Linked DNA regions of Homo sapiens: region 1 is linked to region 2. Evidence: promoter capture Hi-C in 16 types of primary human blood cells and fetal thymus (Javierre and others, 2016). All regions are on one chromosome and are shown on one strand. Each heading gives the region's core, a stretch centred on a gene start or on the middle of the fragment in contact. The rest is flanking DNA. Distances are from core to core; before and after follow the strand shown. Region 1 overlaps DVL3 (dishevelled segment polarity protein 3). Region 2 holds the start of ALG3 (ALG3 alpha-1,3- mannosyltransferase).

Region 1 (3,358 bases), core at 109-2,608, 77 kb before region 2:
GCAGCGATCGGAGGAAGGAGAAGGACCCGAAGGCCGGGGACTCCAAGTCCGGGGGCAGCGGCAGCGAATCGGACCACACCACACGCAGCAGCCTGCGGGGGCCGCGGGAGCGGGCGCCCAGCGAGCGCTCAGGGCCGGCGGCCAGCGAGCACAGCCACCGCAGCCACCATTCCCTGGCCAGCAGCCTTCGCAGCCACCACACACACCCGAGCTACGGTCCTCCCGGAGTGCCCCCTCTCTACGGCCCCCCCATGCTGATGATGCCCCCGCCGCCCGCGGCCATGGGGCCCCCAGGAGCCCCTCCGGGCCGCGACCTGGCCTCAGTGCCCCCGGAACTGACCGCCAGCAGACAGTCCTTCCGCATGGCCATGGGAAACCCCAGTGAGTTCTTTGTGGATGTGATGTGAGCAGGGCCCCTCCCCCAGCTCCATTCCGCTCCCACCCCAGCCGGCTGCGTTCCTCTCTCCATCCGTCCGTCTTTTTTACTTTGTCTGGTACCTGAAAGGGAAATAAAAGGAACTAAATCCAGGTGCGCTAACTGCTCGCAGGGTGCTGCGAGGGTGGGGTGCACCTACCGATTGGCTCTGCAGCCCCCTAACCTGCCTCTGGCCCCAGTTCGTTTCCTCTGCCCACTAATCCCTGCGCAGGACTTCCCAGGACCCCTTTTGTCTCTGGGACCAGACTTGTTGGTGCTACCCCTTACTCCCCTCTGCAACCCCCATTTTGGGAGTTGACCCCAGCAATGACCTTGGTGGCACGCTCACTCCCTCATTCTCTCGTTTCCCCTTTAGCTCCCTTTCACCATTTATTCAGCTACATCATCCCTCTATTAACCCCACCCCATCAGGCACGTGTGCAAACCTCTTGACTTTACCCCACATTACTGAAACCAAAATATATTTGCTTCATCTGCCCCTACTAACCATCCCCCTGCCTGCTGCCTCAGTCCTGCAACCTAAAGCTGTAGTCGCCTCCAATAGCCATCCATGCCATCCCTGCCTGTGCCTAGATCAGAGGCCCAGAGGGCCCCCTCAGTTGCCTGAGCAGCTGGTGGCTTCCAGGGAGCATCTCTGCTCTACCCCTGCCCCATGCCTGCCCTGCGTGCTGGTTCCTTCAGACCCCTAACCCTACTAACCAGCAGGCTCATCTCACCTCCAGGCCTGAAACATTTCTTTTCTTTCTTTTTTCCTCCCCCAATTTACCCTGGGCCTGGAGCAGCCAAGAATTTCGGGCTGTTTGACTTTCTGTGAGCCCCCAGCGAGGGGAGGCCCAGCCTCCGAGGAGACCAGGAACCCTGCTTCAGCAGCCCCTCAGGGCTTCCCAAGGATGTCCAGCCCCCACACCCACACGTTAACATAATGAGTCACTAGGCTTCTGGGGAGGGCCCAACTTCACCCATGCATGAGAGACTCTCCTCCTTTCCAGAGAGAATCGGATCGCACCACGTGTGGCAGCCTGCGGCGGGGGGAGGGGGGCCTCTTTAGCTCTCTTTATCTTTCTCTCTCACTCATGTATGCATACATGCACAGAGATGCATACACAGGTGCCTATGCAAGTTCATTTAAGCCTCAGGGCTGGTCCCTGCCCAAAGGGCTGGACCCTCCTAATCCTCTCCTAGGTTGTGGGGCTGGTCCCCTGACACCCTTCTCCCCTTCCTGGTAGACCTTAAACCTCGCACACATGTCCCCAGCATTTTCTCACCTGGATAAAGCCCATAAGCTGGGTCTCAGGCTGGGCTCAGCAAAGGACTCGCCTTGCAACCGACAGGCCATTCCCACCCCCACACACAACCTCCCCTGTTTTCACATTCACCATGGCATCCCAGAGCAAGGACACAGGAGCCCACAGGCCAGTTGAGGTTGGGCAAGGAGACTTCCAGGACTTCCAGACAGAGTACCAGGTTTTATTTTTCACCTTATTCTCTACTTTAAACAAATCATAACTTTCTCTTTAAGCCTCTGCTATAAATTCTCCTGGCTCTCCTGGGCTTCCATATTTTGGGGGCTGGGGTGTCAAAAGTGAGATGAAGTTCTTAGCTCCAGGTTTTGGGGTAAACCAAGGTAGGAACATTTTGGCATTTATTTCAATTAACAATACTTCCTTGGACGGGTGCGGTGGCTCACGTCTGTAATCCCAGCACTTTGGGAGGCTGAGACAGGTGGATCACTTGAGGTCGGGAGTTCGAGACCAGCCTGGCCAACATAGCAAAACCCTGTCTCTACTAAAAATACAAAAATTAGATGGGTGTTTTGGCACCTGCCTGTAATCTCAGCTACTCAGGAGGCTGAGGCACAAGAATCGCTTGAATCCAGGAAGCAAGCGGAGGTTGCAGTGAGTTGAGATCGCACTCCAGCCTGGGTGACAGAGTGAGATTCTGTCTCAAAAGCAAACTAACAAAGAAAAACAATACTTCCTGGGGTTTTGGTGTGCAGAGGGCTTTGTTGGAAGTGTGACTCAATCTTGCCTGCCTTCTGGGAGCTCTAGAATTGTTCCCAACCCAGTCCATGGCTTCTAGCCACCACTACAGGGCTGTTTCATGTACTTCTCTCTCTGACTCTGTCTTGTCCGACTCTCTTGAGAATTTCTCAACGATTGCTCATGCCTGTCAGTATCAGTGCTTCCATCGTTCCATCTTTGATTCACTTCTCTTTCCTTTCTATTTACTCCCAAAATGGAGTCATTCATCCTGATGTCCTCAATTGCTGCTGATATGCTGGTGATTCCCAAATACATAGCTCCAACCCCCAACTTCCCCCAGACTTTAGATCTGTATTGGTATTACCTACTGGACATCTCTATGGACAGTTCCGTATAGACTCAACTCATCTGCCCAACCAAGTATGTTCCTCCTGAATTCCTCTCCTGGTTACTTCATCACAATCTACATAGGCTCACCAGCTAGAAACATTTATGAGCTTACATTCCTTCTTCCCATATCTTATCAGCATATCATATCCATTTCACTCCAACACTCTGTCTTGAATTTGGCCCTCCCTCTCCCCTCTCTACTTTAATTCATTGGAGCATGGGATTTGGAGTTAGGTGGTTTTGGGTTTGAATTCCAGCTCTACTATTTTTGGTTGTGTGATAGAGTTATTTAACCTCTCTGAGCCTCAGTTCCCTCGTATGTAAAATGATGATAATAATACCTACCTCACAGGGTTGTTGTGAGGATTTAAATTAGATATTGTACGAAAAGTGCCTAGCACAGTGCCTGGCACACAGTAGAGTAGGTGCTCAATAAATGGTAGCTATTATTATTATTATTTTATCATTATTATTATTTACTCTAAATTGGTAGCAGTTTAGGGTATTTTTGGAAGATAAAGCTTTTGCAAAGGTAGAAGTGAAGCCTTGA
Region 2 (3,049 bases), core at 95-2,594:
AGGATCCTCTGTCCACAGCACTCCTTCCCCTCACCTTTTTCTTCTTTCCTTAAATAGCTAATTCCTACCTTCCAAGGGTGGCTCTATGAAGCCTTTGCTGACTCCTCCAACCTGGTTTAAGTGACTTCCTATGCCCTTTATGGTATCCTGTGTTACTACTACCATGATTATGATGCATTATAATTGCCTGCTAACTTACTGTCCAGGCCCGAGTTAGAAATGCATCCTTTTTCTTTTTTTTTTTTTGAGACGGAGTCTTGCTCTGTCGCCCAGGCTGGAGTGCAGTGGCGTGATCTCGGCTCACTGAAAGCTCTGCCTCCCGGGTTCACGCCATTCTCCTGCCTCAGCCTCCCGAGTAGCTGGGACTACAGGCGCCCGCCACCATGCCCGGCTAAATTCTTTTTTTTTTTTTTTTTTCAGTAGAGACGGGGTTTCACCGTGTTAGCCAGGATGGCCTCGATCTCCTGACCTCGTGATCCGCCCGCCTCGGCCTCCCAAAGTGCTGGGATTACAGGCGTGAGCCACCGCGCCCGGCAGAAATGCATCTCTTATTCACCACTGTACCTCTCTCTGGTAACCAGCATAATGCTAGGCATATAATAAGCACTAAATAAATATTTGTTGAATTAAGAGTCTTTAGCAAGAAAGCCAAGTGCCTTAAGCCTAGAGTATAGTTTCAGCCTGGAAAGGAGTAGCCAATAATGCCTAATGGACTCAAGTGGTCACAAGATGCCATCATTGAGAAGGGACGTTCAAAGATCACAGAACTGAACACATGGAAAAAGCTGAGATCCAGGAGGAGACCTGAGGTGTCCAAAGCCACAGAGAAAAGCAGCAGCAGCAGCAGTACAACAATTTTGGCTCAAATCTGACTTCTAAGCTGGTTTGCAGGCTGTAAGTTCAGTGCAGAAGGCCAATCTCTAGGGTATCCACCTCTGCCATGCGGGCAGATTAAGATCCGGTTTTCTGTAGAGCAGGCTTGGCGCTCAGGTAAGGGATATGGATGGGTTCGCAATTGACGAGTGAGTGGATACAGAGTCTGGTTTGGAGTTCCAGGTCTGAGATCCAGTTTGGGTCGCGGGTTCAGGTCTCCCTCCCTCCCCTCCCCTCCCCCTCGGCGCACTCACATGCCACCCTGTGAATGACCCAGAAGGTGATGCCCACCTCCGCCAGGCAGAGGCAGGCGGCCACCAGCAGCGTGTAGCGCGGCTCCCGCAGCAGCAGGCGCCGCTCTTGCCAGGCGCGCTGCAGCCATTGCTTGCAGAGTCCCTCTGCCTGGGCCGCGGAACCGGACCGGCCGCGTTTCCGCAGCCCAGCCGCCATCTTAACGGTGCGCCGCTTGTGTGGGCCCACCACCCCCGGAAACCCGAACCTTCGACACTTAGGTTCCGCTTCCCGTGCCTGGCGTCCCACCAGGCTAAGCGCCGATCCGAGTAGCCAGTCTTCATTTACTCCACTAAAATGTAATTTTTCTGCATTTGTCTCCTCTGATGCACTCCACGCTCCATAGGAGCAGGGACAATGTCTTACTCCTCAGTTTATACCCAGCCCTGGGTACACAGGCGCTAATTTAGAACGAATGTCCAGAAAAGCAACATTCCTGCCTACCTCCCCCACAACCGCTGAAGCCAGCATTCTCCTTCGCCTGCGCTGGGAACATCTGTGTTCATGCTGTCTCTCCAGGAGGGCAAAGCCCCTGTTCGCGCCCCTCCTGCCTGCCCTTCGAGCCTTCCGGATGCTGAGAAAAATGAACCTTTCACTAATTTTCAGATTTCCTGATAAAAGTCATTCATATTGAAAATATGAGAGGACGCAGTGATGAGCCCACGTGAGTCTGACACCTTGAGTGCGGCCCTAGGAAATGACTTGGCAGTACAGCCGGAGGATTCAGGGTCTGGACGATAGTTTTCCCAGCCGGAGGATTCTTCGAAGAGCGCTTAGTAAAGGACGGAAGTTCCACGTGTTTGTGTTGAGCAACTGCAGGTGGTGGGCGGAGACACCAGCGCCCCGCCTTCTGCATCCTGCCTTCCGTATTGGCTGAAGGGCCGGCGGCTCTGGCTGCCCGGCGGTTGAGAGCATGGCCTCTCCAGGGGCAGGTAGGGCGCCTCCGGAGTTACCGGAGCGGAACTGCGGGTACCGCGAAGTCGAGTACTGGGATCAGCGCTACCAAGGCGCAGCCGATTCTGCCCCCTACGATTGGTTCGGGGACTTCTCCTCCTTCCGTGCCCTCCTAGAGCCGGAGCTGCGGCCCGAGGACCGTATCCTTGTGCTAGGTGGGTAATCCCGGCGCGGCCCCGCCAGGTAGAGCTGGCAGGACCGGCGCCGCATGGGCTTGGCCTGGTCCGCTTTCCTCCCGCCTGTCTATCCCTCTTGGAGGACGCCTGCGTTGGGACGCGAGATCCAGCTCCTTCAGAGTCCCGGCTGTATTTAGTCAAGGCTAACAGGAGTAAGAGATTGTTGGTCCCGGGGCCCTCTGGAGAAAGACAGTCCCTCAGAGTTTGAGCGTTGGGGGTACCCAAGACCCTGTCCGGACCCTCGGGAGGCAGGCAGCCTTGGGGACCGGATTGCTCAGAGGACCGAGATCAAGTCCTAGCGCTAATTGACTTGTAAAACTTAGGACAAGTCATGAACCCGTTCTGAGCTTTAGATTCAGTTCTAGAAATGGTACTGCGAGTTCACATCGGAGGCGGCACGCGCAGGCACCTCGAGAATAATGCCCAGCGCTTTTCTTTTTGCCCCTGGGCACTGGGAGCCAGAGTCACCTAGAGAGAGTCCTGTCTGAAACTTGGTCCTATGCCTTAGAGAGTGAGAACAGCACCCTCTAGGGGTGGAGGGGAGATTGCCGCCCAGGGTGATACGATTCCCCAAAGGGAGACGTGCTGGAGGAAAGGTAGGGCTCTGGGGTGTTCGGCTGACCTCTTGAGGTTCTCTCCTAGTGTCAGCCTTGGAGGCGCTAGTAAAGTTTGAATGAGCAACAGATTTTCTTCCAATTGTCGTTTTTACTTTGCTCTTTGTAAAAGCCTTTGTATGTTTAAGTGAAGTCTTTAAT

What was found. Contacts are between HindIII fragments. The CHiCAGO score rates a contact against its expected background, and 5 or more counts as called.
Region 1: a fragment that was not itself captured here is called in contact with the fragment with the promoter of ALG3 in region 2 in 1 of 17 cell types (naive CD4 T cells); the score reaches 5.2 in naive CD4 T cells.

What each region holds. Positions count from the first base shown.
Region 1 is chr3:184,170,349-184,173,706 of GRCh38, forward strand. It overlaps DVL3 (dishevelled segment polarity protein 3), which reads left to right. Exons shown (of 15, transcript NM_004423.4): 15 at 1-3,266. The coding sequence ends at 407. Among named protein-coding and RNA genes, the nearest start is that of AP2M1, 2.8 kb to the right of the region's middle. RefSeq lists an enhancer at 1,193-1,487. The HindIII fragment of the contact is 3,938 bases long and covers 1-3,327 here.
Region 2 is chr3:184,247,618-184,250,666 of GRCh38, forward strand. It overlaps ALG3 (ALG3 alpha-1,3- mannosyltransferase), which reads right to left and starts at 1,345. Exons shown (of 9, transcript NM_005787.6): 1 at 1,128-1,345. The coding sequence starts at 1,323. EEF1AKMT4-ECE2 (EEF1AKMT4-ECE2 readthrough) reads left to right here and starts at 2,055. Exons shown (of 19, transcript NM_014693.4): 1 at 2,055-2,273. The coding sequence starts at 2,078. It overlaps EEF1AKMT4 (EEF1A lysine methyltransferase 4), which reads left to right and starts at 2,055. Exons shown (of 3, transcript NM_032331.4): 1 at 2,055-2,273. The coding sequence starts at 2,078. RefSeq lists enhancers at 1-669, 670-1,413, 1,612-1,661, 1,742-1,801, 1,832-1,941. The HindIII fragment of the contact is 5,512 bases long and covers 1-3,049 here.